Linked DNA regions of Homo sapiens: all the other regions are linked to region 4. Evidence: promoter capture Hi-C in human tissues and cell types (Jung and others, 2019). All regions are on one chromosome and are shown on one strand. Each heading gives the region's core, a stretch centred on a gene start or on the middle of the fragment in contact. The rest is flanking DNA. Distances are from core to core; before and after follow the strand shown.

The links. Contacts are between HindIII fragments. The study calls those that stand out against the background at their distance.
Region 1: a contact is called between a fragment that was not itself captured here and the fragment with the promoter of DOC2A in region 4, in 1 of the 25 tissues and cell types used here (lymphoblastoid cells).
Region 2: a fragment that was not itself captured here is called in contact with the fragment with the promoter of DOC2A in region 4 in 1 of the 25 tissues and cell types used here (lymphoblastoid cells).
Region 3: the fragment with the promoter of NFATC2IP here is called in contact with the fragment with the promoter of DOC2A in region 4 in 1 of the 25 tissues and cell types used here (lymphoblastoid cells).

The regions. Positions count from the first base shown.
Region 1 is chr16:28,967,744-28,970,592 of GRCh38, reverse strand. No RefSeq gene overlaps it. Among named protein-coding and RNA genes, the nearest start is that of NFATC2IP-AS1, 2.7 kb to the right of the region's middle. The HindIII fragment of the contact is 5,584 bases long and covers 1-2,849 here.
Region 2 is chr16:28,870,806-28,873,693 of GRCh38, reverse strand. It overlaps SH2B1 (SH2B adaptor protein 1), which reads right to left. Exons shown (of 8, transcript NM_001387430.1): 5 at 1,711-1,914; 6 at 1,293-1,504; 7 at 989-1,160; 8 at 1-247. Among named protein-coding and RNA genes, the nearest start is that of ATP2A1, 6.2 kb to the left of the region's middle. The HindIII fragment of the contact is 4,269 bases long and covers 1-2,888 here.
Region 3 is chr16:28,949,369-28,952,350 of GRCh38, reverse strand. NFATC2IP (nuclear factor of activated T cells 2 interacting protein) reads right to left here and starts at 1,414. Exons shown (of 8, transcript NM_032815.4): 1 at 953-1,414; 2 at 147-219. The coding sequence starts at 1,339. RefSeq lists silencers at 959-1,078, 1,219-1,318 and enhancers at 1,038-1,538, 1,558-2,092. The HindIII fragment of the contact is 8,980 bases long and covers 1-2,982 here.
Region 4 is chr16:30,009,454-30,012,521 of GRCh38, reverse strand. It overlaps DOC2A (double C2 domain alpha), which reads left to right and starts at 1,495. Exons shown (of 11, transcript NM_003586.3): 1 at 1,495-1,619; 2 at 2,287-2,561; 3 at 2,965-3,044. The coding sequence starts at 2,300. RefSeq lists a silencer at 1,529-1,588. The HindIII fragment of the contact is 30,604 bases long and covers 1-1,655 here.

The DNA of each region.
Region 1 (2,849 bases), core at 212-2,711, 1.0 Mb after region 4:
TCCCAGCACTTTGGCAGGAGGATCACTTGAGTTCAGGAGTTTGAGACCAGCCTGGCCAACATGGGGAAACCCTGTCTCTATTAAAAATACAAAGATTAGCCAGGCGTGGTGGTGAACACCTGTAATCCTAACTACTTGGGAGGCTGAGGCAGGAGAATCGCTTGAACCTCACTGCAGAGGTTGCAGTGAGCCAAGATCGCGCCACTGCACTCCAGCCTGGACAACAGACTGAGACTCCGTCTCAAAAAAAAAAAACAAAGAAAAAACCAAAGAAAATATCATTCTGGCTGCAGCATGGAAGATGGATTTGAGAGGCCAGAGGGGAAACAGCCACCCGTGAAGCGGCTGTGGCACTAGCCTAGGCTGCAGGCAGTGGTGGCTTGGCCTAGGACAGCATGGAGACGGGCAGAGGGAGCTGATTTGGGAGGGAGCTGGGGCTATTAAGTTGAACGGGTGATGCAGTGGGTGTGGGGGATGAAAAGGGATCAAGAGTGAAGCTTTTCTGGCTCACGCAGAGATGGATGATGCTGGGATTCTTTGAGACAGGAGTTTAATCATTCAACAAACATTTGTTAGGATACTACTGTGTCAAGGTGTCAGACACCAAGCAAGAGACTTTTTTGAGATGGGGTCTTGCTCTGTTGCCCAGGCTGGTGTGCAGTGGCACAATCACAGCTCACTACAGTCTCGAACTCCTGGGCTCAAGCAATCCTCCCACCTCAGCCTCCTTCCTGAGTAGCTGGGACTACAGGCATGCACCACACACTTGGCTAATTTTTTTTATGTTTGTAGAGATGGGGTCTCACTAGATTGCCCAGGCTGGTCTGGAACTCCTGGCCTCAAGTGATCCTCCCACCTCAGCCCCCTGAAGTGCTGGGATTACAGGCATGAGCCACTGCGGCCCAGCCAAGAGATTTTTAAGAAGAGTTTATTTTCAAGGAACTTACAGTCCCATAGGGAAGCAAAACCTGGATGCGTGGATGGGTGTACCAAGCCAGACTCCAAGCAGAGGTGGGACACACAAAAGACAATGTGACCAGTCCTACGAGGAGCCTTATGGAAGAACTGACCCTGAGTTGGAGGGGGTGACAGGGGTAGGGAGGTGGGAGACAGTAAAGGCATAGAGAAAAAAAGGCAAAATGGTATGTTGCAACTTCAAGTATGATCAGCTACATTGCCATCACTTGGGACCTTGCTGGAAATGCAGCATCTCACGCCCCACCTGAGCTGCTGATCCAGCATCTGCACACTAACAAGGTCCCCAGACAACCTGTGTGCACACTGACGAGAGTCTCTGGTCTCCTTGAGAATTCTGAGCCATACATCAGACCCACCTGCATCTACACCGGGCTGTGCAATGGGAGGCCCTGTGGTCTAGAGCACGTTCATTCATCTTTCTAAGCTTCTGTCTTTTTTTTTTGAGACAGCGTCTCACTCTCTCGCCCAGGCTGGAGTGCAGTGGTGCGATCTCAGCTCACTGCAACCTCTGCCTCCCAGGTCCAAGCAATTATCCTGCCTCAGCCTCCCAAGTAGCTGGGACTACAGGCGTGCATCACCATACCTGGTTTTTTTTTCTTTCTTTTTGTAGAGATAGGGTCTCACCATGTTGGCCAGGGTGGTCTTGAACTTCTGACCTCAAATGATCCATCCGTTTAGGCCTCCCAAAGTGCTGGGATTACAGGCGTGAGCCACTGTGCCCAGCCCTAAGCTTCTGTTTTTCTTCTGTAAAATGGGAATAAGAACACCTACCTCACAGGATTGCTCTGAGGATGAATAAGGTTATGAAAAGAGCCAAGGTTGGTATGTGGCACTGAGTAAAGGAGCATTAAAGTTTCAAGGGTCTCTAATCAGGAGAGTTTGAGGAAGATTATCCAGAGCCAGCTGCAGTGGTTCACACCTGTAATCCCAGCACTTTGGGAGGCCAAGGCAGGAAAATTGCTTGAGGCCAGGAGTTCCAGACCAGCTTGGGAAACCTAGGGAGAGTCCATCTCTACACAAAAGTTTAACAATTAGCAGGTGTGTTGTCATTCACCTGTAGTCCCAGCTACTCAGGAGACTCGGGAGGATTGCTTGAGTCCACAAGATCGAGGCTGCAGTGAGCTATGATAGCACCACTACACTCCAGCCTGGGTGACAGAGAAGACCCTATCTCAAGAAAACAAAACAAGGCTGGGAACGATGGCTCACACCTATAATCCCAGCACTTTGGGAGGCAGAGGCAGGCAGACTGCTTGAGCTCAGCAGTTCAAGATCAGCCTGGGCAACATAGTGAGATCCTACCTCTACAAAAGATACAAAAAAATTAGGTGGGCATGCTGTCATGCACCTGTGATCCCAGCTAATCAGGAGGCTGAGGTGGGAGGATCACTTGAGCCCCGGAGGCAGAGGTTGCAGTGAGCCGAGATCACACCACTGCACTCCAGCCTGGGTGATAGAACAAGACCCTATAAAAAAAAAAAAAGAAGAAAAGAAAAAGAAAAAGAAAAAGAAAGATCACCCTAGATATTCTTTTAGACATGTGAAAGGATGAACAATCTCATCATAAAAGATAAAGAAATGCAGTCTTTCCCATACCCTTCCCAGATTAAGTCAGGGGAAGGTATGAGGAAACTGGAACCTTCCAGCACTTGCTAGGGGACATGTAAAAATGTACAGGCACTTTGGTTAGCAATCTAACAGTATTCAAGAATTAGTGACCAGTGATTCCACTATCAGATGGAAGCCCCCGAGAAAAATCCCACACAGGTACCCCAAAGGGAACACTACATTGCTTGCAATAGCAACATCCTGGAATTTGAACTGGGTTTGGTTATAAGTGGTAGAAACCCTAAAATAAGTGATTTAAAGAG
Region 2 (2,888 bases), core at 309-2,808, 1.1 Mb after region 4:
TGGGCCTCTGAGCCTGGGGCTATGGCCTCTTCCAATTCAACCACGGGGACCAGCTCAACCACGGGGACCAGCTCTTCCGGGACCCCTCCACCGCCCGCTTTCTCTTTCTCTTGCCTCTCTTTGGCTGCTGCGGCTGCTGCTGCCGCCACTTCTGGCGCCCTCGACGCCTCTTCTGCCCCAGGCTGTGGGGGATCTGTCCATGAAGGGGGTTCAGGGGGCTGGGGTGGGTCATGGGAGGTGGTCGGTTCTGGATAGGAATGGTAAGAAAACAGACTGATTGTGGAGGCAGGTGAGCTCCTGCCGTGGCCTCCCCTTCACTCAGCCCCCCAGGAGCGTGGCTGTCTCCCCACATCCCATCTCCTGAGCAACCCCCCATCCATGGAAGATGGATCATGGGCGGTGGTGAGAGGAGGACCACACTTACACACAGTCACTCGCTCCGAAGGGCATGAGGGTGCAGGAGGCATCGGGGTGGCATCCATCTCCCTCGCACACCCCCGCATGGCTCCCAGCCTGCTCCCGGCCTGGGGGGAGGGGCAACGTGGGGACAGATGGGACGGTGGGGCAGGGGAAAGGGAGAGATCAGACAGGGACATGAGACATTGAGGGAGGAGGGAAGGGGATCAGACCGAGTGTCCCCGGGAAGGGCAGGCCCAAGGCCAGGCTGCGACGGAGGGCAAAGACGAGGCCAGGATGGGTCCAGGAGACAGACAGACAATGGAACAGAGGATCCGATGGAATGGGGATGCGCCCGCCCACCTCTCAGCTGCCGCCCCGGCTCCGGCCAGGAGCCTTCTGCCTTCCTGTGTCCTATCAGCGCATTTCTTTCCCTTCCAAACCCCGAGGCACAACAGCCTCCTCTACCCTGCTCTCCCAAGCAAAGCTTCTCCTTGTGATAGTCCCCCCTCCCCGCCCCATCTTTCTGGCACACACACCTCACTTCTTGGGTGCACGGGCACCTCCTCCCCTGCAGACCTGCTCTGCTCACCCTGCTGTCGCTGGGAGGATGGGACATAGCTGACAAGGACAACATCACTGGAGCCTCCCGACTCCAAAGGGATGGGGTGCACCCGGAAGTGCTCGAGCATATCGAAAATGGACTGGAACCACAGGTGCTGGACCCGGCACTGACCCTCCTCGTTCAGCGACAAACGCAGGTGCTGAGGGCGGGATGGGGGAGGTGAGGTAGGAGGCAAAGGCCCTGCCAGGTACAAACCCCCTCCCCCGGCAGTGCTCCCCCACCCCACTGCCAACTATGCACAGAACAGAGCCTTTCCCACAGGGTGGCTCACCTTGGCCTTGCCCTGGAAGTTGAAGGTGAGGACGTATTCACCCCGCCTTGTCTCACTCTGGCGCACCAGGAAGACACCGTGGGAGCCAGTGCCGCCAGTCAGCACCAACTGTGCAGCCTTGAGCCGAGAGAGCATCCCGTGGAACCAAGGATACCCTGAGAGGGGCTGGTCCCCCTCACCGCCCTCTGGCTCCCCCTGGAACAGGAAGGACCCTTCAGGAAGGAGAGAGGGAGGGAAACCGGGGTGTCAGGGCAGCCTCCCCCATCCTGGGAGAAAAAAGCCTTGCCTTCCCCTCAAGGCGCCTGCTCCCCACATGCGTCCCCAACTCCCCTGGGCCAGCTCCCTCGGGATCCCAGGAGAGGTGGTCAGGAAGGTAGGCACCCAGGCCTGGAGACATGCACACTCACACCTCCGGTACCTGTGGCTGTTTCCGGAGTGTCCAAGGGAGGGTAGGGGGCTGAGAGGGGATGAACTGTCCCTGTTGGGGGTCCCTCTTCAATGGGGATGCGGGGGGGCAACTCTGGGGGAAGCAGTTCCATCGAGTCAAAATGGGAGGCGGCAATGGAGGCAGAGCTGGGGGAGATGGATGCCGAGGGGCGGTCTGAGAGGCCCCCATATGCCCCTGGAAAAAAAAAGGGCAAAGCTGAGAACCCAAGAAATTCCTCTTCTAAAGGACTGTCCTGGGCCCATCTCCTCACCAGCAGTCTACCCTGTGTGCAGTCGCTGGCCAAGATGCCAAACAGCTCTGTGGGTAGTGACCCCTGATGCTTTTACCAATGGCTCCTAACTGATGCTTCCTGCGCTGCTGAGGGACTGCAGAGTTATTGCAAGGAGGTTCTAAAGTCCCAATGTGTCTCCATCTTTTTCTGAATCAACAGCTGAAAGACTGTTGCAGAAACGGAGAGCAGAATGCCTTAAATATATATATACATGTTTTTGTAGAGAAGGGGTCTCGCTATATAATAGCCCAGGTTGGCCCTGAGTTCCTGGACTCAAGTGATCTGCCCACCTCAGCTCTGGGATTACAGGCGTGAGCCACCGTGCCCAGCTGCCTCAAATATTTTGACATTCAAAAGGAGTCCTGGGCCAGGCGCAGTGGCTCACACCTGTAATACCCGCACTTTGGGAGGTTGAGGCAGGAGGATCACTTGAGCTTAGGAGTTCGAGAGCAGCCTGGGCAACATGGTGAAACACCATCTCTACTAAAAATACAAAAATTAGCTGGACGTAGTGGTGCACACCTGTAATCCTAGCTACCTGGGAGGCTGAGGCAGAAGAATTGCTTGAACCCGGGAGGCAGAGGTTGCAGTGAGCCGAGATTGTTTCACTGCACTGCAGCCTGGGCGACAGAGCAAGCCTCTGTCTCAAAACACACACACACACACACACACACACACACACACACACGGAATTCTGGCTGCACACAGTGGCTCACGCCTGTAATCCCAGCCTTTTGGGAGGCTGAGGTGTGAGAATGACTTGAGCCCAGGAGTTCAAGACCAACTTGGGCAACATGGTGAGACCCCATCTCTTACAAAAAATAAAAAATTAGCTAGGTGTGGTGGTGGCACACGCCTGTGGTCCCAGCACCTTAAG
Region 3 (2,982 bases), core at 165-2,664, 1.1 Mb after region 4:
GCTCCTGTGGCTGGGATGCAGGAGTCCCCTCTCCCACGCTCTTCCCTTGAGCCTCAGGAGACAACTGACTGCAGGAATATAAACCCCAGGAATTCTCTTAAGAGAAGCCAGCGGCTGCGTGCCTCTCCCTGGAGGCCCTCCCTTACCTTCCTCATCCCCTGGAGGGTAGAGTTTCAGGAGGGATAGATCATCTGGGATAAGGCGAAGGCTGCTTTTAACCTGCAAAGACAAAGAAGGGAGAGGGGTCAGGCCCAAGTCCTTCCCCTACCGAAAGAAAAAATTGGGGGTAATTCTTCCCTGACACCCAGCTCCCAAATCCTCCCTAAGATCGTGGACACCTTGGCCCTCTCCTGGCAACCTAGAAGTCCAGCTTCCCCAGGATTCAGAATGGAAGTACCCTTCACCCTTTCCTCCATCTGCCTAAGACACTCTGAAATGTATGCTTCCTTGCCCTTTTTAACTAGGTTACTAGCCGCCCCTCTACCCCTGACTCTTAGGGACTCTCAGCCCATTGCTCACACGACCATCGGGGGACCCCAGCCTCTGGAGCCGCCCAGTCCTCTCTGAACCCGCATGGACCCCAACCCCCAATACTGCAGCTCCCTGGCTTCATTTGCCATGGACCCCAACCTCAAAATCCAACGGCCCCAGGTCCTCCCAGTCCCTCTCCAAAATCTCAGGAATCCCAGCTCTTCAGCCTCCCTGTGCCCCCAAGACTCTAGCTCCTAGGAATCCTAAACTTCCAACGCATCCCACCCTCCTTCACCACCCCAGTCTGCAGAAAGTCCCGGAGCCCTGCCTCTCCCTGCCTCCAACACCCTAACGCCCGAGGACCAGCCCCAGAACGCCAGCCTCAACACCCCTATAGCCCTACCCTCCCCGAACGCCGGCCCCTCCCTGGAGGCCAAGCCCTTGGCCCTTCCGCCGGTCCCCTCCCCGGGACCGGGCGCACCTTCCCCGAGTACACCGGAACCAGCGGCGCCTCCCCCGGATCCAGCACCAGCCGCCGCCGCCGCCTGACCGGCTCCCGCGGGGGTCCTGCGGGCCGCCTGTCCTCCCCTTCGCTGTCACTGTTGCTGTTATCCCGGGACGCGACCGGCCCCGGGGGCTCCGGGGGCTCCACCTCAACCTCGTCCGCGGCACCGCGAGCGGTGGCGACCTCCAGAATTTCCTCATCGCTGTCGGTGACCAAGTCCACAGACACTACGTCCAGCGTGCCCCGGGATGGAGACCGCTGGGCCCGAGGACGCCGGCCCCGACCGCCCCAGCCGCCCCGACCCCCTCGGCCGGCACCGCTACCTCCGGACCAGCGGCCCCGCTTCCCCACAGGCTCCGCCATGGCACACTTTCCTCCACAACACACGCCCGCCTCCTCTCGCCTCGCCCCGCCCCCTTCAGCGACTTTCGCCTTGCATTGGACAAACAGCCTGCTCGTCAGCAACTCTTCGCGCCCCACGCGCGGGATCCGCCTTCCCGCCTTTTCATTGGTCTCTGTACCCGCTCATCATGCGCCCACCTCTGAAACCAAGGCGCCAAAGATTCCAATCACCTCGGCACAATCACCGTAGCTTTCGATTCAGTCGGCCTCACCCATTGGCTGGGCCACCTCTCCACAGACGAGCCTCTCCCGGACCCGCCCAACCAAGACAACCGTCTTCCGGCTTGGTTAGTCGCAGGGCATCCTGGGAAATGTAGTCCTCGAGCGGTAAGGTTTCCGGGAGAAGGAAGGCGGGCCTGGAATTCCCTGTGGAAACCGCGGATTTAACCAGGCGCGGTGCCTCACGCCCGTAATCCTGGCACTTTGAAAGGCTGAGGCGGGCAGATTGGTTGAGCTCAGGAGTTTGAGACCAGCCTGGCCAATGTGGCGAAACCGCGTCTCTACTAAGAATGCAAAAATTACCCGGGCGTGGTGGCACCCCTCTGTGGTCCCAACTACTCAGGAGGCTGAGGTGGGAGTTTCGCTGGAGCCCGGGAGGCGGAGATCGCACCACTGCACCCCAGCCTGGGTGACAGGGCGAGACCCTGTCTCAAAAATGCTTTAAAGAAATAATAAGGCTGGCCGCGCGCGGTGGCTCACGCCTGTAATCCCAGCACTTTGGGAGGCCGAGGCAGGCGAATCACGAGGTCAGAAGTTCAAGACCAGCCTGGCCAACACGGTGAAACCCCGTCTCTACTAAAAATACAAAAATTAGGCGGGCGTGGTGGCGTGCGCCTGTAATCCCAGCTACTCAGGAGGCTGAGGCAGGAGAATTGCTTGAGCCCGGGAGGCAGAGGTTACAGTGAGCCAGATCCTGCCGCTGCACTCCAGCCTGGCCGACAGAGCGAGACTCTCTCTCAAAAAAAGAAAGAAAGATAGAAATAATAAGGCTGGGCGTGGTGGCTCACGCCTATAATCCAGCACTTTGGGAGGCCGAGGTGGGCAGATCACCTGAGGTCAGGAGTTCGAGACCAGCCTGACCAACATGGTAAAACCCTGTCTCTACTAAAATACAAAAATTAGACAGGCGTAGTGGCAGGCGCCTATAATCTCAGCTACTCGGGAGGCTGAGGCAGGAGAATCGCTGGAACCCAGGAGGCAGAGGTTGCACTGAGCCAAGATTGTACCACTGCACTCCAGCCTGGGCAACAGAGTGAGACTCCATCTCAAAAAAAAATCTTATGTATTTATTTATTTTTAAATTTTATTTTATTCATTTATTTAATTTTATTTATTTATTTATTTTGAGATGGAGTTTCGCTCTTATTGCCCAGGCTGGAGTGCAATGGCTCGATCTCGGTTCACTGCAACCTCTGCCTCCCAGATTCAAGCAATTCTCGTGCCTCAGTCTCCAAGTAGCTGGGATTGATTACAGGCGTGCACTACCATGCCCAGCTAATTTTGTATTTTTAGTGGAGATGGGGTCTCACCATGTTGGTCAGGCTGGTCTTGAACTCCTGACCTCAGGTGATCCACCCCCCTCCGCCCCCGCCTTGGCCTCCCAA
Region 4 (3,068 bases), core at 246-2,745:
AATGTACCATCTTCACCATTTTTAAGGGTAAGATTAGGTGGTGTTAGGTATGTTCAGTTGTCGTGCAACCAGATTGCTGTTTTAAATAACAGCACTTAGAGATGCCGACTTCGTGCCAGGCCCAGTTTGGGACATTAGGGACTCCCAGATGAATCAGCCGCTCCAGTGGAACTCCCTGCTGGTGGGGGAGGCACTGGCGAAGCGGTGCTGAGCCGAGTCCTGACGGCGCTGGAGCTGAGGGGCAGTGCGGGATGCCCCAGGAAGGCTCCTAGGAAGAGGGGACCCACGGTGACTTCCTAAGGAAGCGCGGTTCCCAGGTAGAGGAGCGCATGTGAGCCAAGATCCCTAGGCCTGAGCCGTCTAGGTGTGTCCCAGGAACTGCAGGAAACGGTTGGGTGAGTCAGTGGTGGGCAGCGAGGGTGATAAGCCCCTTCGTGTCTTCGGGATGGTAAGTTTGGGGCACAGGTGAGTGAAGACCGAAGGCCAGGGGTGGACTGACACTCCGTGGCAGGCGCAGGGCCGGGCAGGGGGGCGGCTTGGGGGTGGCAAGGTTTGGGTGAGAAATGGCAGCCCATGGGGAACTACCGCAGGGCTCTGAGACCTTCAGAGCCAAGCCCCGACGCCCCTTCCCACCTGCGGGGCAGAACTGGGGATGGCAGGGGGGAGGGTGGTTCCCAAAGGAGATACCATCCCTGGTAAGGGGACATGGGCCCCTGGGAGTTGGGTTGGGCCACAAGGAGAGAGGCCTGAACGGCCAAAGGGAGGGGGCGTGGGGGAAGCCGCAGCATCAGACCTCTGCCTCCTCCCTCAGATCGTGAGGCTCCCCAGCCTGGCTCGGGAGACCCCGAGATCCCCGGCCGGTGACAGCAGGCGACCCCCTGCTCCTGTCAACCTGTGGGTCCCTACGGACGTGGGGAAGGGAGGAGGGAGGCCCCAGCTCCCTGCGGGGGAGGGGCGTGAAGACGCGCGGGGGTGGGGGGAGATGAGCCGGCGTCGCCATGACAACGAGGCCGGTGGTCCGGCCTTGGGGACCCGGGAGGGAGGGAGGCGCCGTGGCCGCGCGCGCGGGCGGGGGCGGGGGGCCAGGTCTCCCAGGAGTAGTTGGGGAACACCCGGCGATTCTGGCGGCTGCTTCCTGGTGGCGCAGGGAGCCCGCGTGTTTGCGAGTGCGTGTGTGTGCGAAGTTCTCCGGGTAAGTGTGCCAGCGCGCGCCTGGGTGTGTGCAAGGGTGTGAGCGTGCACACGTGGGCACGGGCGTGTGCGCGCGGGGGTGCCCGGTTGGATGTGTGCACACGAGTGTGTGCCGGTCCGCGTGCCCCTGCGTGAGTGTGCGCGCGCGAGCACACGTGTGTGTGCGCGCTCGCGTGCGCTCCCGAGCGGGCCCCGGGTGGGAGTCCGAGATCCCGCCCCCTCCCCAGCCCCAGCGCCCCTCCCCGTCCCCCGCCGCCGCGCCGGCTGCATCCTCGCCTCCACCTCGCTCACCCCCTCCTCCCCGCACTTTCTCGGCGCTCCCTCCCTCTCGGCTCGCACAGCTCGACTCCGCGCTCTCCTCGCCGGCCGCCGCCGCCCAGCCTGCGCCCGCCGTCCCCCCAGTGCCTGGGCACCTGTTGGAGGCAGAGGCAGGTGCAGGGGGCTGGGCAGGCCGGGGGCGTGAGGGTGCGGGGAAGCGTGCCAGCCTGTGTGCGCTACGGGGGTGTTCGGCTCTCCTGCGGCTGCAATTTCTGGCTCCCCTGAGGAGCCAGAGGTGGCATCTGAGGCTGGGGTCTCCACCGTGGGCTGTGGTGAGCGAGCGGGGGAACCAGGCAGGCAGACAGGTCCTGGGGCTGAATGAGGGGACAGTGGGCAGTTGGAGCCTAGAGGGGTGGGTGACACCCTGACTAGACCAGCGCCTGGTGCAGAGGAGGACAGAGCCTCCGAGAAACAGAGGCGGGGCCCTGCAGGGCCCCTTGGGGGACAGGCAGGCTCAGGAGCAGAGGGGAGCCCCGGAGGAGAGGAAGGAGCTGGCAAGATGATACAGGGACAACCTAGAAGTGGGTGGGTGAGGACGGGGTGGTGCAACCTCGACTTCTGCAAGGAGTGGGTTGGCAGCCCAGCCCCTGTGGAGTCAGCTTGGGGTCTGCAGGGCCCAGGCCTCCCACCTGCCACCGGCTGGCACACACCACCCTCTCCCTCGACACCTAGGAAGGGAGGCCAGTGAGGGCCCCACAGACCGAGGAGGCCGTCGCCTGGCCCTCAGCCAGGATGGCTAGGTATGATGGGCTCACTGGCTCACACGCCCTCTCCTAGCCAGGGGTGCTGCATGAGGGGCCGCAGGGGCGATCGCATGACCATCAACATCCAGGAGCACATGGCCATCAACGTGTGCCCCGGGCCCATCCGGCCCATCCGCCAGATCTCTGACTACTTCCCCCGGGGACCAGGACCTGAAGGGGGCGGCGGGGGCGGCGGGGAGGCCCCCGCCCATCTGGTCCCCCTGGCTCTGGCCCCCCCTGCAGCCCTCCTTGGGGCCACCACGCCTGAGGATGGTGCGGAGGTGGACAGCTATGACTCGGATGATGCCAGTGAGTCTGGGGGCTTGGAGGCCCCATGTGCTGGTGGGGGTCTCCAGGCTTGCCGTGGTGGGGGGAGAGGGGGATGGGCCCTGCTGGCTGTGCATGTAGGTAGGGGAGGAGGGCAGTGGGGGGGTGGCAGGGACGGCCACCACAGCTGCAGTCAGCGTGGAGATTACAGCTTCAGCAAGGCTCAATATTCAGTATTTCTGCTGAGACACTCCACCACCCACACAGCCCCAGTTGCGGCCGAGCCAGGGACCCAGACGCACACACGCATGGGCCCACTCAGCCTCTTGCACTCACACTCGCGGGCTGGCAAGAGAGAGAGACACACAGAGCCAGTGCCCACCTGCTGGCCTCTCGCACACACCTGTCTCCATACCGACCCATGCTGCCTTTCCTCTCTCTCCAGCCGCCCTAGGCACGCTGGAGTTTGACCTTCTCTACGACCGGGCCTCCTGCACTCTGCACTGTAGCATCCTCAGGGCCAAGGTGGGCACTCCCTGCCACCCAAGC